Regions from separate parts of the Homo sapiens genome. Here all the other regions are linked to region 5. The links are contacts of gene promoters, found by promoter capture Hi-C in blood cells and fetal thymus (Javierre and others, 2016). All regions are on one chromosome and are shown on one strand. The core of a region is centred on a gene start or on the middle of the fragment in contact, and the rest is flanking DNA. Distances in the headings are between cores, read along the strand shown. Region 1 has its middle 24 kb from the start of RNF7. Region 2 overlaps TFDP2 (transcription factor Dp-2). Region 3 has its middle 58 kb from the start of RNF7. Region 4 has its middle 86 kb from the start of RNF7. Region 5 holds the start of ATP1B3 (ATPase Na+/K+ transporting subunit beta 3).

Evidence for each region. Contacts are between HindIII fragments. The CHiCAGO score rates a contact against its expected background, and 5 or more counts as called.
Region 1: a contact is called between a fragment that was not itself captured here and the fragment with the promoter of ATP1B3 in region 5, in 1 of 17 cell types (endothelial precursors). The highest score is 5.2, in endothelial precursors.
Region 2: a contact is called between a fragment that was not itself captured here and the fragment with the promoter of ATP1B3 in region 5, in 1 of 17 cell types (fetal thymus). The highest score is 6.8, in fetal thymus.
Region 3: a fragment that was not itself captured here is called in contact with the fragment with the promoter of ATP1B3 in region 5 in 4 of 17 cell types (M0 macrophages, M2 macrophages, monocytes and 1 more); the score reaches 8.3 in M0 macrophages.
Region 4: a fragment that was not itself captured here is called in contact with the fragment with the promoter of ATP1B3 in region 5 in 1 of 17 cell types (monocytes); the score reaches 6.7 in monocytes.

The regions. Positions count from the first base shown.
Region 1 is chr3:141,712,002-141,717,030 of GRCh38, forward strand. It overlaps the pseudogene LRRC78P. Among named protein-coding and RNA genes, the nearest start is that of RNF7, 24 kb to the right of the region's middle. The HindIII fragment of the contact is 1,763 bases long and covers 1,971-3,733 here.
Region 2 is chr3:142,024,213-142,029,799 of GRCh38, forward strand. All of the region lies in intron 3 of TFDP2 (transcription factor Dp-2), which reads right to left. Among named protein-coding and RNA genes, the nearest start is that of TFDP2, 120 kb to the right of the region's middle. RefSeq lists a silencer at 3,728-3,777 and enhancers at 4,164-4,665, 5,072-5,121. The HindIII fragment of the contact is 204 bases long and covers 3,771-3,974 here.
Region 3 is chr3:141,677,520-141,682,655 of GRCh38, forward strand. It overlaps the pseudogene LRRC78P. Among named protein-coding and RNA genes, the nearest start is that of RNF7, 58 kb to the right of the region's middle. The HindIII fragment of the contact is 2,514 bases long and covers 1,000-3,513 here.
Region 4 is chr3:141,650,021-141,655,260 of GRCh38, forward strand. No RefSeq gene overlaps it. Among named protein-coding and RNA genes, the nearest start is that of RNF7, 86 kb to the right of the region's middle. The HindIII fragment of the contact is 2,058 bases long and covers 315-2,372 here.
Region 5 is chr3:141,874,408-141,880,214 of GRCh38, forward strand. ATP1B3 (ATPase Na+/K+ transporting subunit beta 3) reads left to right here and starts at 2,236. Exons shown (of 7, transcript NM_001679.4): 1 at 2,236-2,503. The coding sequence starts at 2,395. RefSeq lists silencers at 1,131-1,190, 2,061-2,190, 2,461-3,030. The HindIII fragment of the contact is 6,749 bases long and covers 1-3,985 here.

The DNA.
Region 1 (5,029 bases), core at 1,602-4,101, 160 kb before region 5:
CAAAGAAACCAATCAAATCCTTTTTTTAATAGCATACTTTCTACTCTTTTTCCCCAACCGGCAACCTAGGAAGGCCTGATGTCCAAATTTATCTCCTTTTCCTGAAAAGCAAGTTTTCCCTCCAGGCTTGAAAACTTATGCTTGATTATCCTTGACTCTGTTCTCTTCCTTGCTCTAACCACGCTAGTTAACATTCACTTAATGTCGGCTTCATAAGGGGAGGGATTTTTGTCTCTTTTGTTCTCCGTTGGGTCCCTGGCACCTACACCACTGCCTGACACATAATAGGAGCTCGAAAATATTTGTTAAATGCTGAAGGAATTCAAGTCTTGTCTAGCTCCAGGGTTAGGCTCTCGATGGTGGACATTGTGGACAAAATTAGTGTATAGTTAAATGATCCTTTAAAATTCCGTAATTTGCCCACACATTACAATATCTAGGCATATTATCTCTAAGTCCCACACAGTTTCTTCCCCAGTTTTGGAACAGATCACTTGGTCTTTCTTCAGTTGGATCCAGATGAAGTAGTTGGTTAGTGTTTAGGGGGCACATATAACTCTAAACACTTGTAGGCCCCCAGAAAAAGTTTGAACGTGGGACTGCCAATTCCTATTTCCCATCTCATACTTACTGAGTGGATGAGCCCTCATTATGCCTGTGATTATTTCTTTTCCTCCATTCCCTTCCTGTATTTTTCTTTGCCAAACTCCTAAACTTGAACTGACATAAATTAAATGTGGACCTGATGCTGTTTCCCAGCACTGACAATAGACTCTACAAAAGCTGTGTCGACTGACAAGTGTGAACCAACCCCAGGAACCCTGAGCCCAGTCATGAATTCTACAAAGGCAGGATGGTTCTTTCTCCTTCAGATTTTCTCTTTTAAAGCTCAAAAAGGTAACAGCTTTTCAGGCTCCTTTAAAGGGCTGAATTCCTTCACAAGAACTATCACTTCCCCTAGATCAGTGGGCAACTCATTCATCTTCTTCCAGGAAATTTCTAGATACATCATTTTCCTCTTCAAAGTAAAGGCAACAATCTAAATCTTAGATGGAATTTCCTTTCATGCAGAGTAATTTTGGGCTTCTTGTTCTAAAGAAGGAAGGATGTACTGAGTATAAAACGAGGACTTTAAAAATTATATATACAGTATTTCCTTGACTATACTGCAAATGCATCTACTCACACAAGTCCAGTAAAGTACAAGCTAAAAGAATAAAGTCAGCTTAGCTGGTGACAAACAGGGGAACTATTGTCTAAAAATAATAAAATACTTTGATTTTCTTGTAGGAATCAAGAAGAAAATTGAAGGTCTGATGGAAAGTGGTCCTTGGTTAGTGAAGTTGCATTAGGCAGATAATGGCATAGATGGAAAAGGAAGAGAAGGAGAAAATGGTTTATTGGAATTCATTCAAACTTTAACATGGTAAGTAGCAAGTTAAGAGGCTTTATTTGTTCACCTTTTAAAACTAAGTGCTTGAATTAAATCATGGGGATAATTATTTAACTGCACCTTTTTAGCAGTTTCCGATGAGGTTTTTCAGCTCTGAGAGCCAAGCAGTGACCCATCTTGGTCTTGGTACCTAACGTGGCAAACAGTTGTGTGTGGACCATAAAGCAGTCTCAAAGACCTCACTAGAAGCCCCATTTTAAGAAGTTGGCAACTGAGGAAAAACAGGAAGTATGACCTCCCAATTTTTCTTTCTTAAAGTCAGGATATAATGTAAAATGTAATCAATGTGACCTGAGGAAGAAGGGCGGCCTACTCAGGAGTGAACACTCTTTTGTGTTTGATTACAAAGTTGTCCCAGCCTCCTCAGGCAGAAGGACACAGCTATTCTCAAAAGCTTCTCAAAAACAGGATATTTCCTTACCTTGTTTGTCTTGAGAATCTTAGGCATTTCCCTGTCCAGGCCTACTGAGTCCACATCCCCAGTGGGCCAAGTAGGATTTGCAGCTACTGTAGAAAAAGCTTGCTGGGTGGAAACGACTCCAAGATATATAGTTTCAGGTAGTCGATAGTGACAGCACCATGGGGACAGTCAAGGGCAACAGAACACAGCCAAGGCTTGAGGCTTGAGAGCTTGATGGATGGCTACTTAGTATTATTATTACTACTTTTATTTTTATTTTTGAGACACGGTCTTACTCTGTCGCCCAGGCTGGAGTGCAGTAGTGCAATCTCTGCTCACTGCAACCTCCACCTCCCTAGTTCAAGCAATTCTCCTGCGTCAGCCTCCTGAGTAGCTGGGACTACAGGCGTGCACCACCACACCCAGCTAATTTTTGTATTTTTAGTAGAGACAGAGTTTCACCATGTTGGCCAGGCTGGTCTCAAACTCCTGACCTCAAGTGATCTGCCCACCTCGGCCTCCCAAAGTGCTGAGATTACAGGTGTGAGCCACTGCACCCAGTCTACTTATTATTTTAGAAGAAAAATATTCCTTCTCTGTCTGGGCATGGTGGCTCACACCTGTAATCCCAGCACTTTGGGAGGCCGAGGTGGACAAATTACTTGAGGTCAGGAGTTTGAGACCAGCCTGCCCAACATGGTGAAACCGCATCTCTACTAAAATACAAAACAATTAGCTGGGCATGGTGGCAGACACCTGTAATCCCAGCTACTCAGGAGGCTGAGACAGGAGAATCACTTGAACCCAGGAGGCAGAGGTTGCAGTGAGCCAAGATCGTGTGCACTCCAGCCTGGGCAACAGAATGAGACTTCATCATGAAAGAAAGAAAGGGAAGGGAAGGGAAGGAGAGGGGAGAGGAGGGGAGGGGAGAGGAGGGGAGGGGAGGGGAGGGGAGGGGAAGGGAAGGGAATCTTCTCTAATATACTTATTCAGGAAGGCTGGGAAGATTTTCAACTTTAATAGCTTCTCTGCTTTTCTATAATAATCCTATTAATAACCTTCATTTCATTGCCCTTTTAACACAATGCTGATTTAATATATTGCTGATATATTATGCTTTTAGTATATTGCTAAAATTTTGTTAAGGATTTTTGCATCTATGCTCATGAAGCATATTAGTCTGTACTTTTCTTTTTTTTTTTTTTTTTTGAGATGGAGTCTCGCTCTGTTGCCTGGGCTGGAGTGCAACGGCATGATCCCGGCTCACTGCAACCTCTGTCTCCGGGTTCAAGGGATTCTCCCACCTCTGCCTCCCAAGTAACTGAGACTACAGGTGCGGATCACCATGCTTGGCTAATTTTTTGTATTTTTAGTAGAGGTGGGGTTTCACCATGTTCGCCAGTCTGGTCTTGAACTCATGATCTCAAGTCATCTGCCCAGCTAGGCGTGAGCTACCACACACAGCTGTACTTTTCTTTTCTCGTAATATCTTTGTCTGGCATTAAGATCAGGGTAATTCTGGCTTTACAGAATGAGCTAACAAGTGTGCCCCTCTCTTCTATTTTATGAAATAATTTGTGTAGCATTGGCATTATCTCACCCTTAAATATTCAGTAGAATTATCAGTGAAAACATCTGGACCTGGAGCTTTCTTTATGGGAAGGTTTTTAACAACAAATTCAATTTTTTTTTTTTTTTTTTTGAGATGGAGTCTCTCTCTGTCACCAGGCTGGAATGCAGCAGTGCAATCTCGGCTCACTGCAACCTCCACCTCCCGGGTTCAAGTAATTCTCCTGCCTCAGGCGTGAGCCACCATGCCTGGTCTAAATTCAATTTCCTTAATAGATATAAGGCTATTCTGGATATTTTATCTTGAGTAAAGCTTTAGTAGTTTGTGTCTTTCAAGAAATTTATTTCATCTAATTTGTCAGATTTATTGGCATAAAGTTCTTCATAATATTTTCTTACGATCCTTTTAATGTCTGTAGCATCTATAGTGATGTCTCCTTTTTCATTCTTGATATTGATTACTTGTGTTTTCTCTTTTCTGATTGATCTGGTTAGAAATTTATTAATTTTATTGATCTTCTCAAGGAACCACTCTTGATTTTCACTACTGTTTTTCTGTTTTTAACTTTATTGATTTCATCTCTTGTCTTTATTATTTCCTTTATTCTGCTTACCTTGGGTTTAATATGCTCTTCTCTTTCTCGATTATTAAAGTGAAAGCTTAAGTTATTGATTTTAAGTTTTAATTTTTCTAATATAAATGTTTATGTTAGCACTAAGCACTGCTTTTATTGTATCCTACAAATTTCGATATGTTATATTTTCATTTCATTCAGTTCAAAATATTTTCTAATGTTCCTTTTCATTTCTTCTCTAACCTATGGGTTATTTAGAACAGCTCTGTTTGGTTTCCACATATGTGTATATTTTTTCAGATATCATTCTGTTTTAATCAAGAGATTAAGAATCTCTTGATTCTTAATTAAGTTCTGCTGTGGTTGGAAAACATACCTGGTGCAATGGCATGATCTCGGCTCACTGCAACCTCCATCTCCCGGGTTCAAGCGATTCTCTCACCTCCGCCTCCCAAGTAACTGGGACTACAGGTCCCACGCCTGGTGTGGTCATGTAGTCCCAGCTACTTGAGAGGCTGAGGTGGGAGGATTGCTTGAGCTCAAGAGTTTGAGATCAGCCTGGGCAACATAGCAAGATCTCATCTCTAGCGGAAAAAAGGAACACACTTGTTTTATTTCTTTTATGGCCCAGATCTGATCTATCTTGGTAAATGTTCCATGTGCATGAGAAAAGAATGTGTATTCTGCTGTTACTGGATTGAATGTCCCATAAATGTCAATTAGGTCAAGTTGGTTGGCAGTGTTATTGAAGTCTTCTATATATGTACAAATTTTTACATGTTCTATCAATTATTGAGAGAGGGGAAAATTGTGATTTTGTTTATATCTCCTTGTAGTTTAATCAATTTTTGCCTCATGTATTTTGAAGCTCTGTTTTTAGGTACATAAACATTTTTGATTGTTGTGCCTCTTGATGAATTGACACTCGTCATTATGAAATGCTCTTCTTTATCCTTGGTAATGCTCCCTACTTTGATTGATATTAATATAGCCACTACAGGTTTTTTTAAATGAATATTTACATAATTTGTC
Region 2 (5,587 bases), core at 2,623-5,122, 150 kb after region 5:
AATTTTCACTACAAGTGAGCAAAGTGCCAAAACCAAAGTCCCCGGTTGATAGTCTCCAGCTTTAGAGTTACCATGTAAAAATTCATTTGAAAATTGGTTTCTTGAAACTTGGTAGAAAGAAACAACATAATTACATGACAGGTTCCTGGATCAGTTCACAAAACATAGTTAATTCATAATATACTCAAAGCACCATACTCATACTGGTCTACCTGCTCCTCAACAATGTAAAAGGTTTTCTCTTCAGAGAAATATAGGCATCAGGCACATCTCCCCTCTTACTCCACTCCAGAGATGAGAAATTTCAAGGTGGCTGTTATTTCTAGTTGCATATGTATATATAAGGCAGAAAAAAAAGGCTAAATCATTGACCTCTCTGGGTATTCTGAATCGGGTTACAATAAATAGGTAAGGCTCAGGTTCCTCTAAGACCTCAGTTTTGTGATAAAGAGTTCATACATAAAGCAAGAACTTCAGGTACTCCTGAAGTCTTCTTTCAGTATACATTTTAAATATTTAATTTAAGACCGGGTGCAATGGCTCATGCCTGTAATCCCAGCACTTTGGGAGGTCGAGGCCAGAGGATCACCTGAGGTCAGGAGTTCGAGACCAGCCTGGCCAACATGGTGAAATCCCGTTTCTACTAAAAATACAAAAATTAGCCGGGTTTGGTGGCGGGCGCCTGTAATCTCAGCTACTCGGGAGGCTGAGGCAGGAGAATTGCTTGAACCCGGGAAGCACAGGTTACAGTGAGCTGAGATTGTGCCACTGCACTCCAGCCCAGGCGACAACAGCGAGACTCTGTCTCAAAGAAAAAAAAAAAAAGATTTAATTTAATATTTAAATTGATTATGACTGGAAGTATTTACTAGAAATTAAAGACAATTAAGGAATTACCTCTAAATGGCAGATGAATTAGGAAAGTTTTTGTTTGTTTTTTCCTTCAGACACTCCCAACCAATTTCCAGGTAACAAACTTGAATGGTTTGGTTTCTCATAGAGTATAAATCAACAATATAATATAGAAAATTATACTCTCTATGTTCTATACTCCATATATGCTAAAACTAATGTGCTCTTCTCAACCATAATTTGACCACACATTCAATAATTCCAAGATAATTTACACATACAGAGGCAGTGGGAATTCATCTTAAAATAATTCAACTGATTTTGGTCTTCATTTCTCAATTTGAAGGGCTAGGAGTCCAAACTATGTCCTTGTTGCTGTTGCTGATACTGTTTTCCTTGTTAAGTAACTTATTGTCATGTCTACATTTATAATTGTAAGTGATACACATTTTTTATAATCACAATCTATGATGCTGTCACAGTTATGTATTACATGTGGAGTGACCAACTTTTTTTTAAGCCTGTCTATTCCATCAAAATTTCTGTTCTTTGATCAGAATTGTAAAAAAAGTTCTTTAGGCAAATCTATAGTTTGTAAATCCATTTTAAAGTCCATGTAAATTGTTTTACTTATTTTAGAGAGAAAAAACCTCAACCATTACATGTTGCTATTCCTTAAGATAAGCAAAATGTACATAGATAAGTTTTAGAATCTGAATCTTAATTGAAATAATGATTCAATAAACTTCAAAGGCCAGGCGTGTGGGCGCATGCCTGTAATCCCAGCTACTTGGGGGGCTGAGGAAGGAGAATCGCTTGAACCCAGGAGGCAGAGGTTGCAGTGAGCCGAGATCACACCATTGCACTCCAGCCTGGGCAACAAGAGCGAAACTCCATCTCAAAAAACAAACAAACTTCAAAATCTCTAAATTTGGTCATCATTATTTGAAGAAAAGAAAATCTTCTGGCCGGCGCAGTGGCTCACGCCCATAATCCCAGCACTCTGGGAGGCCGAGGTAGGCGGATCTCAAGGTCGGGAGATCGAGACCATCAGGCCGAGGTGGGCAGATCACGAGGTCAGGAGATTGAGACCATCCTGGCTAACATGATGAAACCCCATCTCTACTAAAAATACAAAAAATTAGCTGAGCGTGGTGGTGGACGCCTGTAGTCCCAGCTACTGGGGAGGCTGAGGCAGGTGAATGGTGTGAACCTGGGACGCAGAGCTTGCAGCGAGATTCCGTCTCAAAAAAACAAAAAAACAACAAAAAAAAACAACAAAAAAATAACTTCAGGTAAGCCCACAGATCTTAGCTAACAGCAAGAGGAATTTTTAATAATCTGCTTGAATGTTGATATCTTTTCCAGCCTTCTCTCTCCTTAGGCCAATTATTTAGAAAACTGTATAATAATTAATCCATATGCAAATTTTAAACTATAGCTCAAAAACTTTATTGGCTACTGTAAATTACTACGAATTTTCCAGTGTAGGGTATGGCAAATATTGAATAAGTGCCTCATATGTGAAAGAGCTGGTGCTCAGCACTGATTTTTCAAGAGCAAACTTAAGAAATGAATAAAGTTGTAATGTGTATACACGCACATTATACAACAGCATAGGACTTCTTTGTGTTACTTGTAAAAGGAAAGGTTTTCACTTTCCTCATTATGAATTCCAAAAATTCAAAAACTGTTTTTCAAAATTTTGACTGCTTTCATTACACGCATAATGCTTCCACACTCTTCATTCCTACTCTTTTCAGCAGATAAACATTCTCCTCTTTCCATTAGCAACCAATCCAAGCTTATTATCTTTCTTTTTAGAGGCAAACTGCAACATATCATTTCAATTAAACCCAAAATATTACTCCCATATTTCTTATGCAAAGGTCTTAGGAATAAGCCTCAGCTTCTCACAGAAGATGAAATCATCTATCAACATATGTAACTGATGTTTCTCATTTTATTTTCATTTTGAGATTTTGTACCTACTGTCTAGTGATAAACTTTTGCAACTGTTTCCTCTATATTTTAGATGGCTTAGGCTTTAAAAAAATGGTCTATATGATTTAATTATCAATTTTTTCCTTAAGTGAAGTTCAACAGAATTAATTTTCTCACATTTTCATTAATTATACAGGCTACAGGCAATATTTAAAGTTTTTTTTTAAATATTGGGTATGTTACTCATTTTGTTACTCTATGACTTTCAATTCCTGAATATAAAATAATAAATTTTAAATGACTAAATTTTATTTATTCACTGATTAAATCAGATTTATGACCTCCTCTCTCCATTCCAGCTACTCTGAGTTTTGAATGAAACAACCTCAATTGTAACAGAAGAAACATCTGTTGCTTTTTTTCTTCACCAGGGCTTTCCTAACTGAAAGAAGAAAGACTCTCTGCCTGACCTCCTCTCCCTCTCCCTCTCCCTCTCCCACTCCCGCTCCCCACCCACACTAAGTTCCTTAAAACTTTTTTAAGTAAATGTATTATTTAAAATTTCACTGTATCTATTAAAAACATCATAGTTTAGAAACATTCACTTCCTTATTGAACTTCAAAGAATGACTAAATGCTATTATATATCAAAAAATAAGACGTGTCTAATAGAATATACGTTGTAACTAAAATGCAAACTTCAAGGGTATAATTGAAATGATCAATTCAATCAAGTTGTCATATATTCCGGGGTCATTAAGAATTGTTTAGGGGTAAGATTTTCTTCACAGTATCCAGATTCATATAGCATCTTGTATGCTATATTTTCTTTGCCAGTCCAAGGCTAACATAATGGCAGTCACTACCCCAAGAGGCAGACACCAAATGGTGCCACCCACACTCTCACACTGTGCCTCATAATAAACCATAAAGCAGTGGAATGCACCGGCCCCTTTATGAGCAAACAATGCCTAAGCTTCATTAGAATACAGCTGACATTTTCAAAGCACAAATACTTTTAAGAAAAATGTACTAGGGAAAAAAAGGAATGAAACAGCTATAAAAGCTGAAATATTTTTCAAGTGTCAGGTTGATTTCCAAGGATCCTTGGGAAGTATATTTTGCTGTTGGCAATTTAAAAGTTTTCGTAAGTGGAAAAAATGTTTAGTTAAGGGCAAAGCTTATTTTATTAACTACTGGGGAAAAAAATGAAAGTAAAAACTATCCTTTGAATTGCTTTCACAAGTAATAACCATGAAGTACCTTTAAAATTACTGATTTCCTCAACTGCTGCTTTAGTTCCTGAATTAAGAAAACTGAGCTCCAGAATTATTTTCACATTTTAATTAATTTATATAAGTAACTGAGTAATAAACTAATTCTTCCCCTCCCCCCCCACCCCAACCCCCATACATAACCCTGTAGTTTTTCTGTCTGCAACAAGCAAGGACGTCTTGAAATCAGCGTGCTCCTGGCTATTTATCAATTTAATATTGCTGCTGCTTAAAGAATATAAAATAAGAGCTGTAAAAACTCACCCAGCAGTGAGAAACAAACTGATCTCTCTTACCTGGTCTAAGGAAGCATGCCTCTCACTGCAGTACCAACAACATTCTACAGTCTTTGTTACCATTCAGTGGAAACTTGAGACTGTGTCAGACGTAAGCAATCGAGCTCAGAAAAGCTCAATTTAAAATACTTCTCAGTAAAACTAAAAAGATGCTCAAGAAAACTGTTTAGTTAACTGGCTTTCAAAAGACATATGAATACTGTTTACAACAAAGACATCTCAAAAGAAATTGAAAAGTGCAGGTCTTAGATGAAGGGGCTTTTCTATGTAGAACCTTGTTTTCTTATTAAATTAAAAGGATATTTTTATTTTAAAAAATGCTTAAAGTACACACTTGATCTTAGCCAAAAGGCCGAGAAGCAATAAAAATGCTTAAAGTAAAAAGGGTGAAATAACTACAAGTTAACATTTTTCTAAATATCACTTGCCTTTTAACTAACTTAAAAAATAAGATTAAACTTACTCGTGAAACCTGCATAATTTGAATTATACATATCAGAGTATCTGCTGGCTCCAAAGCAGTCACAAAGCAGGAGACTTAATGCATCTTGAAAGCAGAGCAAAAGCACCACGAGTTTCAGGGGGAAAAGAGGAGGAGAAACTCTTGAAAAACTGGTCGGGGCTTTTTGAACCTGTAATAACTGTCCAGCTCTTGTGGGAGGAAAAAAATGTCCCAGTCCTGCCCCGAGATAGGAGGCTATGCTTCAATGCCAAAATGAATGACAGGCCCATTTCTGATATCAACAAAGAGCAGCTTAGTTGTGCTTTTTTTTTTTTTCCACTTTCCCACACAGAAGTTCTAAAATTTCCAGGTTAGTCCCTTTATAGCTAGGGTTAAGTACCTTTCTCCATTTTCTCAAGAGGGAACTCAATTATGTTGTCCTGGTTTTTTTTTAAATGACTAATTAAATATACATACCTAATCATCTTACTTAGTTTTCCTAGGCAGGAAGCTGAACAAAAGATGACCTCTTAGGTTCCTTTCCAAATCTATTCTTTTCAATATCAGATAACCATATGACTGTCAATATTAATAAGCTTTTCCAGCATCCTGATGTATGGCACAAGTAGAAACAAAAAGCAAGGTAACATTAAAAACAAAGCAACTGAGATAAAATTTTCAACTAGCAAGATGTAAAGATAATTTACCAAGGTATGTGTTTGATTACAGAAATTCAAAACAAACACTCCAATCAACAACATATATTTGCTGAATACTTA
Region 3 (5,136 bases), core at 1,007-3,506, 200 kb before region 5:
ACCAACATAATGCCTGCAAATGAAGAGAGGCACAAACAAATGAATACTGTATGTTTGCATTTATGTAAAGTTCAAAAAACAGGTACAACTATAATGTTTGATTATCACAAAATTATGTTTAGGGAGGAAGGAGGAAGCAGAGAATAGGAAAGGACACTAGTAGTCATTTTCTAGTCTCTTACTTTTAAAAAAAATCCTTTATTTTATTTCTTTGAATGTGTTAAAGTTATTTTGTATTCTGTCTAATAGTTTCAATAATCTGAATTATTTGGGGCTGATATTGTGATCTCTTGCTTCTACTGGCTCTTACTCATGGTGACACCAATTTGTGTGTTTTGTGATTTCCTTTTTACTGTTAACTCATATTTCCTGGGATAATGGTTGTGGCAATTTCCTGAGCTCTGGTTTGAAGAGAACTTCCTCTTCAGGGCTTGAATTTGTGTCTGCCATTCACTCTGGGTGCTACCATCCCAGGGTTATATTAAATTAAATTATTGACCTGTGATTTCTTTGAACCATCCAGATGGTTAATTAACACAGGGTGCAAAACTGTATTAGAGCTAGTTTGTGAGTTCTCAGGAGATACATTTTTTCCTCATATTTATCAGTCTGAGATAGGCAATTTTCCCTAGGGTCCTTTGGGAAAAAAAGAGAGTTAGGTATTTATTTCTAGTTATCCTTACTCTAAGAGAAAAAACCTATGGCCCACTTTGTATTTGGGGCCATAACTTCATGTAGCATTTTCTACTGGACTCCTTGTCTCCAGTGTCTATGACTTTATCTCCTATTCCCTGGACTCCACGATCCATGAAAACCAACTACTGTTTGAGTGATACTCTCAAAGGAAAGCTGGAGTCAGTGCTCTGCATACCCCACTGGGCTCCCACTTTCTCTCATTCATTGATCTTTGGGTATTCCTCACTAAACTGCCAGCCCATCGACACATTTTAAAAAGATATATATATATTTTTAAATCCTTAGAAGAAAACATAGAGGAAAAGCTTCATCACCTTGGATTTGGCAATTATTTCTTGGAAATGACACCAAAGGCACAGGCAAAAAAAAAGAAAAAGTAGATAAATTTGGCTACATCAAAATGTAAAACTTCCATGCACCAAAGGACGTAATCAATGAAGTGAAGAGGCAAACTTATGGAATGAGAAAAAATAATTGCAAGTTGTATATCTGATAAGGGGTTAACATCTAGAATATATATATATAAAACTATTACAACTTTGCCGGGTGTGGTGGCTCATGAGAGTTCGAGACCAGCCTGGCAACATGGTGAAACCCTATCTCTACAAAAAATTAGCCAGGCATGCTGGCATGTACCTGTAGTCCCAGCTGCTCAGGAGATTGAGGCGGGAGGATTGCCTGAGTCCGGGAGGTGGAGGTTGCAGTGAGCCGAGATCACACCACTGTACTCCAGCCTGTCCTGTCATGGGAAAAAAAAAAAAAGAAAAAAGAAAAAAGAAAAAAAAACTGCTACAGCTCAACAACAAAACAGCAAGCAACCTGATTTTTTTTTTTTTTTTTGATATGGTGTCTCGCTGTGTCACCCAGGCTAGAGTGCAATGGTGTGATCCATCTCAGCTGACTGCAACCTCCGCCTCTCAGGTTCAAGCGATTCTCATGCCTCAATCTCTCGAGTAGCTGAGACTACAGGTGCACACCACCATGCCTGGCTAATTTTTTTTTTTTTTTTTGTATTTTTAGTAGAGACATGGTGACCTCAAGTGATCCACCTGCTTTGGCCTCCCAAAGTGCTGGGATTACAGGTGTGAGCCATCATGCCTGGCCACAACCTGATTTAAAATAGGCAAGGAATTTAAATAGACATTCATCAAAGAAGATATACAAATAGCCAATACATGCACGAAAAGACGTTCAACATCACTAATCACTAAGGAAATGCAAATCAAAACCACAATGACATGCCAACCTCACCATCAAAAATAAAAAAATAAAAAAGATAAAAAACACCCAGAAAATAACAAGTGTTGACAAGGATGTGGAAAAGTTGGAACCTTGGGCACTGTTGGTGGCAATGTAAAATGGTGCAGCCAGTAGGGAAAACAGTATGACGGTTCCTCAAAAAGTTAAAAATAGAATGACCATATAATCCAGCAATACCACTTGTGAATATATACCCCAAATAATTAAAAACAGGATCTCAAAGAGAGACTTCTATACCCATGTTGACAGCAGCATTATTCATGAGAGCCAAAAGGTGGGAGCAACCCAAGTGTCCATCAACAGATGAATGAATAAACAAAATGTGTTGTATACAGACAATGGAATATTATTCAGCCTTAAAAAGGAAGGAAATTCTGACACATGTTGCAGCATGAGATGAACCTTGAGGACATTGTGCTAAGTGAATAAGCCAGTCACAAAATGACAAATACTGTAGAATTCCACTTACGTGATGGACCTAGAGTAGTCAGATTTATACAGAGAGAAAACAGAATGGTGGTTACCAGGGTCTGCGGAAAGAGGAGAATAGGGAGTTATTGTTTAATAAGTAGAGTTTCAGTTTTGTAAGATGAAAAGAGTTCTGGAGACGGATGGTGGTTAGGATTGCACAACAATGTGAATGCTTCATGCCACTGAACTGTATACTAAAAATGGCTAAGGTGGTAAATGTTATGTGCATTTTGCCACAGTTAAGAAATACATTTTTTGGCCAGGCTCAGTGGCTCACGCCTGTAATCCCAGCACTTTGGGAGGCCGAGGCGGGTGGATCACGAGGTCAGGAGATCAAGGCCATCCTGGCCAACATGGTGAAACCCTGTCTCTACTAAAAATACAAAAATTAGCTGGGTGTAGTGGTGCGCAACTGTAATGCCAGCTACTCAGGAGGCTGAGGCAGGAGAATCACTTGAACCAGGGAGTTGGAGGTTGCAGTGAGCTGAGATGGTGCCACTGCACCCCAGCTTGACAACAGAGCGAGACTCTGTCTCAAAAAAAAAAAAAAAAAAGAAATACATGTATAAGTTACTTTAAATATGTATCCTGCAATTTTAGTTGCTTTTATTCAGAGTGTCAGTCAGGGTACCCAGTCCACTCAAGCTGGAAATAAGATGCTGTCCATGCATGTTAAAAGTGATCCTTAATAGTTCCTTAAATGTAGCCCTCTTGCTAATCTGGAGGCTGCTGAGGAATTCTATCTTGGATAGCATGGTCCTTGCCCATGGCAGTACTGGTGCCGAAGGAGTGACATGTAAACCTCTGATTAGGAGCTTTAGGACCCAGTCAAGAGCCCATTTAGCACAGACTGATGTTAACATAGGCACTGACATGCCACATTGATTGGCTCCTCTGTCAGAAACACAGCTTGCAGAATCCAGTCCAGCACTCAAATGAGGCACCTGTCATTAAAGAGGCCTTGGGCACCAGCTCTGTAGTTAAGGTCACAAGTGCCTTTTTAATCTCTGCCAAGGTATAATTTGGAATCCTATATCTGACCATGTCATTGCCTCAAAAAACTCTGAATTCTCCAAACTCCACCAAAGCTTCTTCTAGGCTTAAATTCTGAAATGAAGGATCCTCAGGTTGTGATGGCTCTAATTGCTAAAAGGTGGCCTGTTCACGACATTCTTGTGATTTACATTTTTAAATACCCTCTCCTTTCATTAGGTGGGGATTTATCTGTCATTAGCATCCATTGTTACCACAGGAAATGACCTGGCCTTGGGCCCTCCACACAGGAAACTGTGGGAACCTGGGCTGGCTCCAGTGCTCATGTGTTGGCTCCAATCCAACACTCCAATCCAATTCAGTGACTCTTTGTTTTAAAGGGAAAGTATTTTATTTTCATGCCACCTTTTCCTTAGATAATTAGAAAGTTATCTTGGGGCAAAAATGTTGAGGTAATTAACATGATGGACTTGAAAGCAACATTTTAAAGCACAGAGCATAGTTGTCATCATTATGTAAGCATTTTTTATATCTTGCATTCTTAGGCTTTGCTTCTGGAATTGAAGGGGCACACCACCTGCCCGTTTACCACCCTAGAAATCATTGATTGCAAGATGGATCTGTGGTCTCTAGAGCGACTTGGGAAGGCTCTGCGGTTCAGTAGTTTGCATTCTCTTGTCCTCGATTACTGCAAGTAGGGCTGGAATTCCTGCAGGGCTCTTACAGCTGTCAGCTGGGGGAAGCAAAGATGGGGAGGGTTGGGGGGGTTGCATGTCCAGTTTCCTTGCACCTTATCAAGGCATGGCTGAAGAGGACCCTCTAAAACCTTAGAGTTAATGTTTCTGAGTAAATATTAGAGTTCTCAAGAAGAGTCACTTTCATTTATTTATTCTTTCAACAGATATTTGTTGAAGGCTAGTTTATGCAAGATATTGTGCTCAGTGCTAAGAAAGATACAAATATAGAAGGCAATGCTGCTGTTCCAAGGTGTCCTTGGTACAGTAGAGAAGAGATGCTCTTAATGCAAGGTAGAAAATCTGAAGACCACAAAAGATGTCCATGTATATTATTTTGGTAGTTTGGACAAGGGAAACCACAATTCCCTAGGTGACGGGTCAATATTCACCAGATGAGGAGGTAGAAAGAAAGGTGTGGTGGGCTGGGCACAGTGGCCCTCACCTGTAATCCCAGCATTCTGAGAGGCTGAGATGGGAGGATCACTTGAGCTGAGGTGGGGGATGAAAGCTGCGGTGAGCCGAGATCATATCACTGCATTCCAGCCTGAGTGACAGAGCAAGACTCTGTCTCAAAAAGAAAACAGAAGAGAGAAAGAAAGAGGAAGGAAGGAGGGGAGGAAGGAAGGAGGGAAGGAAGGAAGGAAGAAGGAAGGAAGGGAGGGAGGGAGGGAAAGAGGGAGGGAAAGGTGTGGTGTTGGGGAGGAGTGGAGCAAGTCCTTCAGAGCTGGGGTATCAAGCATGTTAAGGGAATGTCCACAAGATGAGAATAATAATAATATTTCCAGCTAATGGTTAATGAGTGTTTATTGTGTGCCAAACACGATGCAGGAATGAGCTCATTTCTCCTCCCAACAACCTCATGAGCTATGCACCATTACTATCCCTAGACTGTGGATGAGGTCCACAGACTTGTTCAAGGCTATTCAGTCCCCCAGGGATGGAACCTTGATATGGATTCAGGTTGTCTGAATCAGAGCCC
Region 4 (5,240 bases), core at 94-2,593, 230 kb before region 5:
TGCCATCCCACACAAAGCCCACAGGGAACATACCTTTCTTCTCAGGCTTAGCAAATGTTCTTGTGCACTCAGATTTCTGAATCTGCAGCGCTTTGCACGGCTGCCACAAGGACACTCGCAACATGAGAACTTCAGTGTACAAAGGTGGTGATTGCAAATCTACAATGAAATTCTATTCTTGGATTCCACAAGAATAAAAAAGTCTTTGCTCCTCTTCTGTACCCAGGAAAGGGAACCTAGGAAGACCACTGGAGCGAGGACAATTATGGAACCATGCAACTGGACTTCCAAATTCAATGAATTGCATGCCTGCAAGCTTTCTTCATGGTCCATAGCCCACATTCACCTCACAAGATGGGGGAAGAGATAAAACACTTTGGTTTTCTTAATGCAATGTTGGTGTTTCTTTAAGAAAGTATAGCCTAGACCAGGCTGGGTGCAATGGCTCACACCTGTAATCCTAGCACTTTGGGAGGCCGAGGCAGGTGGATCACTAGGTCAGGAGTTCAAGACCAGCGTGGCCAACATGGTGAAACCCCATCTCTACTGAAAATACAAAAATAAGCTGGGCATGGTGGCGCATTCCTGTAATCCCAGCTACTCAGGAGGCTGAGGCAGGAGAACTGCTTGAACAAGGACCCAGGAGGCGGGGTTTGCAGTGAGTCGAGATCACGCCACTGCACTCCAGCCTGGGCTACAGAACAAGACTCCATCTCAAAAAAAAAAAAAAAAAAAACAAAAAAAGTATAGCCTAGACCTTTATCACAAGCACAAAGTCAAGGCACCCAAAGTCCAAACACTCCTTTACCTCATGGAGACATCCAGTCTTCCAGCCCAGAGTCCACAGTGGTTTGGGAGTGGCTCCCCTCTGTCTTGAACTCATCCGACCCAGATTCTCCAGGGACGTGGTCTTCATAGGGAAGCCCTTGGGGCTCCACACCTAAGAGCCCTCCAGTTCCTTGGCCCTTTCTCACCTTCTTCCCCAGGGTCCTCTTTGCAGCTTCTCATCTATGTGGACAATCATTCCATTTTCCTCTTGATGGTGTGGGAGGAGGACTGTAGTCCTGGAGATGAGGCATCTACAAGGCAAGTAGGCCTTCATGTTGTAAAAAATGGCCCCCTCTTAGTTTACTGTGTGTGTTGAGCTTAAACTATGTTATTATACTGAAAAAGGGAGGGGGTGCTGAGTTGCATTACCAAGGCCATATCTGTTAACTCAACTTCAGTATGCAGCAGGAAAGCAAAATTGCTGGGAACTGGGGAGGATGAAGGGAAGAAAAAAGTTCCGTCCTATTACCAAATATAAAATTGAATACTCAAATTTATTTGAATAAGATTTAAGTTAATTTGAGTTAATTAATTTGAATAAGAAGAAGTTGTCAACTTCAGCAATAAGACTTTGACCTCATATTTTTGCCCTATTTACCAACAACTACTAAAAGAGGTGCTTGATATTTTGCAGCAGATAGCAAAGTACAATAAGATCTTACCTGAAGAAAAGGCAACAAATTTTATTCCGCCTGGCTCTTCTGGTATGCTACTTCTGCTCTGTGATCTTTTAAGGTGACAGATTTATTAGGTTTCTGGATATTATTTCCTTGCAAATACTTGACACAGAGAACTTGGCCATGAGAACAGAAAAGATGGGGAGATAACATTTTTAAAGCAGGCATGCTGGATTTGGAGAGGAGCAGAAAGGACCTCCAAAACAGTTACGGTGCTCTAGAGACTGAGCCAACAGAATGTGTGTATAGATAGGTTTATCATAAGGAATTGGCTCACATGATTGTGGAGGCTTGGCCAAGTTCAAAATCTGATGGGGCAGGCTGGAGACTCAGAGAAGAGTGGGAATTTGAATCCAAAGGCAGTCTGCAGGCAGAATTCCTTCTTTCAGCTGGGAGGTCAGTCTTTGTTCTAGTAAGGGCTTTAACTGTTGGGAGGAAGTCCTCCCACATGACAGAGGGCAATCTGCTTTACTCAGAATCCACTGATTTAAATGTCAATCTCACCCAAAAAAACATCCACACAGAAACATCTGGAATCATGTTTGACCAAATATCTGGGCACCATGGTCTGGCCAGATTGGCACATAAAATTAACCATCATACTAGGGAAATGGTGATAGGTCCAAATTCCCAGAAGGAATGGCTCCTCAGGGAACAAAATCCGGGACAGTGCTGGGAAGGCATGCACTAGTGGCCCCCAGGATCATGTCTGGTGTTGATGGATTTTCAATTGGGGTACTGAGGAAGAGCAGTGGTTTCTGTAGCAATCAGAAAGACCAGGTACCAGAGAATCTCAGAACCAGAAGAGATTTTGGAATTTACAGGGCAGAGGTCGTCAGACTTAAGCATGCTTCAGAATCACCTAGAAGCTTTGTTATAACAGATGGCTAGATCTTGTCATACTCAGAGTATCAGAGTAACAGTCCAAAATTTTGCATTTCTAACAGTTTCCCAGGTGGAAGGACAATGGCCGCACTGCAGTCAAGTATAGGCCGAGGTACACATCCGGCATAGCATGACACAGCAGGATTGGAGCACAGGCACACAATCCTGTGTATTAAACCACCACAGCTATGTAGCCATAACATGGGAGGGCTCATCACATGACTCTGAGCCACTGTTGTCTGTGAGGTGCATAAATGCAGCACTGACAGTGTGAAAGAGCTGCTGAACAAAGCCATGTCCCACCTGCCTGTGGTCTCTCGCATGTTCTTTCAGCTGCCCTCCCCTCATCAACCGACTCCCCTTGGACCTCAGCTTGGGCCGGAACCTGACACCAGGTGATGCTGAGGCTGCTGGTCTTGGGACTACATTTTGAGAACCACGGACCTAGGACCTTGCTATTCCAATTATAGCCCACAGACCAGCAGCATTAGCAGGATCCACGAGCTTCTTAGAAATGCAGGTCTCAGGCCCCACTCTTCACCTACTATACCAGACTCTCACGTTGACAAGATCCCCATGTAACTTGTGTGCACATTAAAATGTCAGAAACACTGATATTGCAAATGAGAACAATGAGAGTGGCGGAGTACCTTGCTTGACAGTGGAGAGGACTGATTCCTGATTCCTGGTCTCAGCACTCTTCCACACCCCTGTGCCTTTCCAAGGCTGCATGTTAGAGCCACCTGAGAACAAACACTGTTGCCCCACCCCAAGGATAATGATGTAACTGGTCTGGGGCAGGGTCTCAGGCATGGACATTACTTTCAAACTCCCAGATGGTTCTAATGTAGCACTGGGGTTAAGAAGCTCTGATATAGCCCACATTTAAGGCTTAGTTTTGTATCATTACCCCATTCACCTTGCTGAAAAACTATTTGAGATTTGTTTTCAAATGTCTTTCTCCATTGAGTTTTTTACTGGAAAACATTCCTGTCCTTTAGTTAAGAAGTTTATTTGAGTTTTTTTTTTCTGATCATATCACTTCTCAGAAACACCTGCAAATGGTTTGCAAGGCCAGTCCTCACTGAGCCCACAACACCTAGTGCCTGTGAATTTCAGATATGCCCAGCCCCAGGAAAACCTCCTCTTCCTTCTAAGTACACCCTAGAAGAAAACTCTTCCTTAGCCGCCTGATGTAAGGGTCTCACCATTTCCTCACTGGAGATTTTGCTTTTTTTGGCGTAGGAACCCTGTCAGGACTGAATGACGACTACAGAAAGAGCAGAAAAGAGAGAGAGCTTCCTTCCCTGGAACTCTGCTGGGGGAAGTGGGCTTGGAAGATGGTGGCTGCCTGTTTAAGGGTCCAAGGCTTCTCCTTTCTCCTCCTGTTGGTGCCAGAAGAAACAGACACATAGATGGAGGACAAGTTATTTGAGGCCAATTTGAATGAGTTTCCAAAAATTCCAACTCCTGCCAGGGCTGTGCTCTGTTGCCTGCTCCTCCCACTCTCATCAATTCCTGACCCTGCTGGAGCCCATAAACAGGGGAGGGGCTTACAGCTCTGGCTTTGGGGTTCTGTTAAATGTCACTGACAAAAGATTACCAGGATTTCTTTGATCTGCAGTCCAAAAAAAAGAAAAAAAGACGTTAGATTTACTGGCCTTCCTACAATAGGAGCAAATGTCCCCAGAGGAACACGGGGACTTCAGGAAGAAGGAGTTGGGAGAGGTTTCTTACAGGATTGGACTCACATGGGGTGACTCTAGGAGGGGAAGAGGAAAGTGGGGGGCAGTCCTAGATTGGATGCTGTCAAGGAGTACGGGCAATTTGTAATCGTATGTGAATTTTATCAAGACTATAGGAGCACTCCAGATGGCCGTCATTGGTGATGGACAGCAGTCATTCAGGTCCATCAGAAGAGGACATTTAGTCACTTTCGTGCTTGGAGAATGGCCTGGTCTGTCTTGCCCCAAACATATTGTTGGGAGGTGGGAGCAATGCTTATGTGCAATTTGGAAGCCACACTCTGGCGGCCAGCAGGGCCAGTTGTCACCTTTTTAGTATTCAAAACTCAGTGTTCTCCTTGAGAAAATGAAACGAGACTGGAGATTGTTTCCTAATTTCTCTTTTTTTTTTTTTTTTTTTTTTTTTGAGACAGAGTCTTGCTTTGTCGTCCAGGCTAGAGTGCAATGGTGTGATCTCGGCTCACTGCACACCTCCGTCTCCCAGGTTCAAGTGATTCTTCTGCCTCAGCCTCCCCAGTAGCTGGGATTACAGGCACCCACCACCATGCTCAGCTAATTTTTTGTATTTTTAGTAGAGATGGGGTTTCCCCATGTTTCCCCATGTTGGCCAGGCTGGTCTTGAACTCCTGACCTCGGTGATCTGCCCACCTCAGCCTCCCAAAGTGCTGGGATTACAGGCATGAGCCACCACGCCCAGCTGTGTCCTAATTTCTTACCACTATAATCCCTGTTCTCTTCAGAACAGTTTCTGTAGGTTTCAGAGACAGGTGAACAACACAAATTCACCAATCAAAAATGTGATACTACCACTGCATACTTTCTAAAATTTGGAATTGAGTGTTTGCACATTTCTAAAGATGCATCAGTCAAGGAGTTTATATATCTGTAAATCTGAGAAATCCGAACAGTTTTGCTTTATGAAATGAGAATCCAGGCCAGGTGTGGTGGCTTAGGCCTGTAATCCTAGCACTTTGGGAGACCAAGGTGGGAAGGATCACATGAGGCCAGGAGTTTGAGGCCAGCCTGGGCAACATAGTAAGACCCCATCTCTTAAAAAAAATTTCCGTTTTAAACTTAGCCAGGAGTGGTAATGTGTGCCTGTGGT
Region 5 (5,807 bases), core at 986-3,485:
AAAAAAAAAAAAAAAAAAAAAAAAAAAAAAAATATATATATATATATATATATATATACACACACACATACACAAACTACAAATCCTTGACAGCAGCCAATATCTTTGAAACACTATTTCATAATATTCTTGTTTACCACGTTTTCTTTGTGTGCCAGGTGATTAGTTATCAAAGCACGCTTATTATTAGCGCACACACACATACATGCACACACACAATGTAAATGAAGCGGACAGGTTTTGTTTCATTCTAAATATCTTTCTTTCTTACCTAAATGAAAAAGCCTGTTATCAACTCTACCAGTATTTTAGGTTTCCTCTAACCTGTAGTTATATTTGTAATGAGTTGAAAATAGTTAACTACTTCCATTCTTTTTTTTTTTTTTTTTTTTTTTTTTTTTTTTTTTTGAGACGGAGTCTTGCTCTGTCGCCCAGGCTGGAGTACAGTGGCGGGATCTCGGCTCACTGCAAGCTCCGCTTCCTGGGTTCACCCCATTCTCCTGCCTCAGCCTCCCGAGCAGCCGGGACTACAGGCGCCCGCTACCACGCCCGGCTAATTTTTTTGTATTTTTAGTAGAGACGGGGTTTCACCGCGTTAGCCAGGATGGTCTCGATCCTGACCTCCTGATCCGCCTGCCTCGGCCTCCCAAAGTGCTGGGATTATAGGCGTGAGCCACCGCGCCCGGCAGGTAACATTCTTTAGTTCTTTCAATCTTGCCTATGATTTAAAGAAGTGCATTCCAGTCTGCTTGCATGGTGCTTTGCTATTTCTAATACTCATTTCATGCCAAACTCTCCAACATGCTTCTACAAATCTTTTGGTGTCATTAGCTCAAAACGTAAATGGATTTTGGTTATTTTCAATGTCATAATTATAAATTTAGCTTTTTTAAGCGTGAAAAAAGCACTTTATAGGAATATATTTTACCACTTTTCCATTTGTGGGAGGTATAATTCATTATTTCTTGCTTTGGTAAGAAAAGTGAGGAAAAAGGAAAATTCATCCATTTGCAGGCTGTTTAAACTTCCAGACAGATTATAATTCATCACTCCAAACAATAAGATGGCTATTACATTTCTCCATAATTTTTATTTGCTAATAAAACGGAGGCAGAGCTTTTTTCTAAAAATAAATAAATAAACAACAACAACAACAACCTCCCCCACCCCGCACCTTCTGTGCAAATTCCTATAAAGTCTTTTATCCTGTCGCTGAGTCTGAGGGCACCCCCCCTCCCGTACTCGTCAGCTCCATCTCGCGGAGGAAAACGCTACCGGCACCCTCAGCTCCGCCCAAGGGCCGCGATCTCTACAGGGGAGATGAAAAGCCGGCGACACTACACAGGCGTGGACCCTCCAACGAGTGTTCCTTTCCTGTGGGTTAAGAGTAGGAGCGTCTGGGCAAAAGCTGGGAGCTTTCAGTTGCCAGGACCCTTGGGAAAGCACGTATTTAGATTTCATTGATAAATTCAACTGAATCCCGAGAAAAATTATACTCCATTCACTGGCATATTTAGAACGGAATTCCCATTGACCCGAGGCTCCCGGTTGAACCCTTCAAGGGAGCCAAGCGAGGACGTTCTCAGAACAGCAGTGCACCGTGTACATTGTGGGAGCCCCGCGCGATCCCCCGCAGAGCGTCCTGTAGGAACGTCACAGAGCCCAGAGAGCGTCCTGTAGGAACGTCACAGAGCCCAGAGAGCGTCCTGTAGGAACGTCACAGAGCCCAGAGAGCGTCCTGTAGGAACGTCACAGAGCCCAGAGAACGCCTGGGGACGGTCGGGGAGGCAGTTCGGGGAGGGGACGATTAAGTTCCCTCAGAGAGGAAGCCGCGGGCCGACTGGAGTCGTTTTCGTGCTCTCCGCACCCGCCCGCCGCGGGTAGCATCTTCTCAGCGCCCCGGCGCCCAGGAACGCCCAGGAAACCCAGTCCTCCTCCTAAGCAACCTGCGGCGCGGGGACGCCCGCCTTTTGCTATTATTATAAACGTGCGTGCGACTAAACCTTCGGATTTTTAGACTTTCTTCTCGCTTCCTCTGACCCAGGCTGAGGGAGCCCCCGAGGCTACTGCGGGGCGGGGCCGGGGCGGGGTGGGGCGCCCTCGCCGCCTCAGGCAGCGCCCCGGCCGCTGGCGGGAGGCGGCAGCGGCGCGGGCCGAGCGGCGCGGGGATTGGCTGCGGCGGGCGGAGACGTCAGGCTCCCGCGGCCCAAGCGGCCGCCCGGCGCGGCGCGGCGCAGTCGGCTCGAGTACTCCCCGTAACGAGGAGGTGTTCTCGGCCGTCCCACCCTTCACTGCCGTCTCCGGGCTGCGCCGCCGGAGCCGGGACGCGCCTCCGCAGCCCTCGCCGCCTCCATCCCCGCGGCCGCAGCTCCTCTCGCCGTCCGCGCGCACACCATGACGAAGAACGAGAAGAAGTCCCTCAACCAGAGCCTGGCCGAGTGGAAGCTCTTCATCTACAACCCGACCACCGGAGAATTCCTGGGGCGCACCGCCAAGAGCTGGGGTGAGCGGGCAGCAGCTGGGCGTCCGGGGCCGGCCTCGGTCCCGGGGGCGCCGGGCGCGGTCTGGTGGGAACGGAAAGGCGGGAGGCGGCTCCCAGCGCCGGGGCTCCCGACCGCCCGACCCTAACCCGGGCGGCGGCGGCGCAGTGCGGCCCCATTCATTGCTCCCCGGGCCGGCCGGACTGGCCGCAGCTCGCTCCCGAAGCAGCGGGGCCCGCGGGCAGCCCGGCCGGGCCGCGCTGGTTCCTCCCTCCCTGCTGGGAGCGGGGCGCACGTGCTGCCCGGGCCTCCCGCCCGGCGCGGCGCCGGAAGCCGGGGACCCCTGCCCGAAGCCGGGCCCCGAGAGTGCAGGAGCCGAGCCCCCGGGCCTCCTTTGTACGGAGCGCTCCGGCCCGAGAGGCCCTGGCGGAGGCGCCCGGCCCGCTGAGCGGTTCGGAGAAGCCAGACCCTGCCCCACTCCAGGGGAGAGGAAATTTCCACTCCCGCCGCTATCTTGTGACTCGTCCACGCTGCCACCCCGACCGGTCGGAAGAGTGCGACTGAGTGTTAAGTGTGGGTGTGGGTTGCTTAAACGTGTAGCGGTGAGTTAATCACAGAAGTACATTGTACAAGAAAATGCACTTGAATTTGGACAGTGAAAAGGCCCTTAAAAAGGTTGGTTCCTCCCGGATTCCTTTTTAATTACAGAGGTTTTCTTCCTTACAAATTTGCTTCTTTGGGGAAAGTAAATCCTGTCTGAACAACACAGGTTTTTTTTTTTTTTCCCGTGTCTTCAAAACAGGAGAGTGATGGTTGTATGTTAGCAGATTTTTTCTATGCGTGAGCTCTTTGTTTTAATATATTTAAACCATCTACCGTGTAGAGTAGCTTTAGGATGCCTTTTTTTCCTAAAATTGTATCAATCTCTGAATGCAGGCTAGAGCTTTTTTTTTTTTTTGCCTTTATACTTAAGTAAACTAATTTTACCTTTTTAAATCCTTTTGAAACATTTTGTTAGTGGGTCTTGAAAGACCATTTCTTTCTGAGTGGGAATAAATCTCGAGAGCTTAGAACTATTTGGGCACAACATTTTTAGGATAAGCATGGAGAAATAAGCTGTGACTCAGAAAATAAACTGTTGGTGCAGACTGAAATGGACTCCTTCAGGGTGAAAAGGCGACTTGAAGTCTTATCACAAGCTGAAAGGGGCCTTGGAGGATTTTTAGCCCAACCCCCACTTTAGAGATGAGAAAAATGAGACCCAGAGAGGTTGTGATTTTTGCCTTGTGTAAAATTACATATGCCACAAAGCCAAGAAAAGAACCCAGTTCTCCTTTAATCCTAGTCCAGCGGTTGTATTATTTTACAGATGCCTTGCCTAACTGCATGGTAATCACTCATGATTTTTATTTAAATTGCTGTTTTCTTTTGGGAACCCACTAGTGTGATGAAGAAATAAATCTTGCATCCAGACTTACATGGGAACAAAAGATGAACATTTATAAAGCTTAATTGCTTGTTTCTAGAGTGTACTAACTTTTTGCTGAAGAAATTTTTGAGTGGTGGAGAGAGATTAATTTTGATAGGCTACCTTCCTCCCTTTCTCCCTTCCCCAGTGCTTCCTCATTTCCAGAACGGAGTAACTCCACTTTGTGTTAGAATGACATTTCTTACTGCAGATAGTGCTCTTCAACCTTTGTATTGTATGACCTAGGGTAGAGATTTTATTTTATTGAGTCAATGCATTTAAATAGATAACATGCACAAATAAATAGAGAGCAATGTGTAAGGACTGTAAAACTAGTACAAGTGAAGTTGGGATTCATTTTGGAAGGATTAAGTCAATCTCTTCAAAATCGATAAGTATTACTCTTATCAGTAAATTTTTTGTTTATTGTAATAATAGTAAGTCAGTGAAGAATGGCATATATAGGTGAAAATTAACCATAATCCTGTCCCAATGTAAGGGTATCCCTCTAAGGATATGTGAGGGAGTCGTGAGAGGAGGCCGAAATCCATATTCAGCTTGCCAGGCTGTGTATCCTAGACCATGGTTGGGTCTGCCTAGAGAAGGGGCACCTTGTTCTAATTCTTGCAAAGGCAGGATCAGTTTGGAGAGCTCTGTGCCTCTGGGGATATGTCTGCCAGGAAGGATTCTTTTTTTAATTCTCTTGAAGGGACTGTATGGGCTTGCTGCCAGATGTCATCATACCTCAGAGATACTATTAACATTCTGGTATATATGTTACTGAATTGTGTATAACATTTTTTTTAAAACAAAAGGATCATAAAGTGTTGTTTTATATTCTGAGTATATTGTGGGCATCTTTCCATGTTACTAAAGATTTTTAGACAGGTTTCCCTATATTCACCCTTTTCATGTACATTTTTGCACATTTATTTCCTTGGTATATATTTATACCGATGGGATTTCTAGGCCATTCATATGTACTTTTTACATTTTGAAAACTTGTTTTCATGTGCTTTCCAGGAAGTTTCTAACAATTTATACTCCCAACGGTATGTAGTGGTGTCTCATACCTTCATCAGCACTGAGGCTATTTTTACCTGTGTTATCTCTTTTAAAACCTTACATTTTTGGGGCCGGGCGCGGTGGCTCACACCTGTAATCCCAGCACTTTGGGAGGCTGAGGTGGGTGGATCACTTGAGGGCAGGAGTTCAAGACCAGCCTGGCCAACATGGTGAAACCCTGTCTCTACTAAAAATGAAAAAAAAAAAAATTAGCCGGGTGTGGTGGCACCTGCCTGTAATCACAGCTACTTGGGAGGCTGAGGCAGGAGAATTGCATGAACCCAGGAGGTGGAGGTTGCAGTGAGCTGAGATCGCACCACTGCACTCCAGCCTGGGCGACAAAGCAAGTCTCCATCTCAAAAAAAAAAACCTTACAGTTTTTGGTAACAGCTTTTTTTTTTTTTTTTTTTTTTTTAAGAAAAACAGCCTTTTGTCATTTTGCAAATTTTTTTTCTAGTTGTCTTTTTGACTTTTTTTAATCAAATTTTATGTAGGTGGTGGGAGAAAAAGATTATGTATTTGTTGTAGGGGGTGGAAGGAAAAAAAATCACATCTTTTTTGACCTTGTAAAGTTGCTAGGACTCCTGGTGTGTCTACCCCCAGGATTTTATCATTCATTTAAGATGTTTCCTGGTTTTATTTTTACACATTTAAGTCTTTAGTATGTTTGTCTCATTTTGATCTAAGGTTCCTCTCCAAGTGCATTGGATACATTAAAAAGCACACATATTTAAAAGGTAGTTTTGCTATTTACATTTTGGATAAAGTGAAAATGTTGCAAGTTACATTGCATT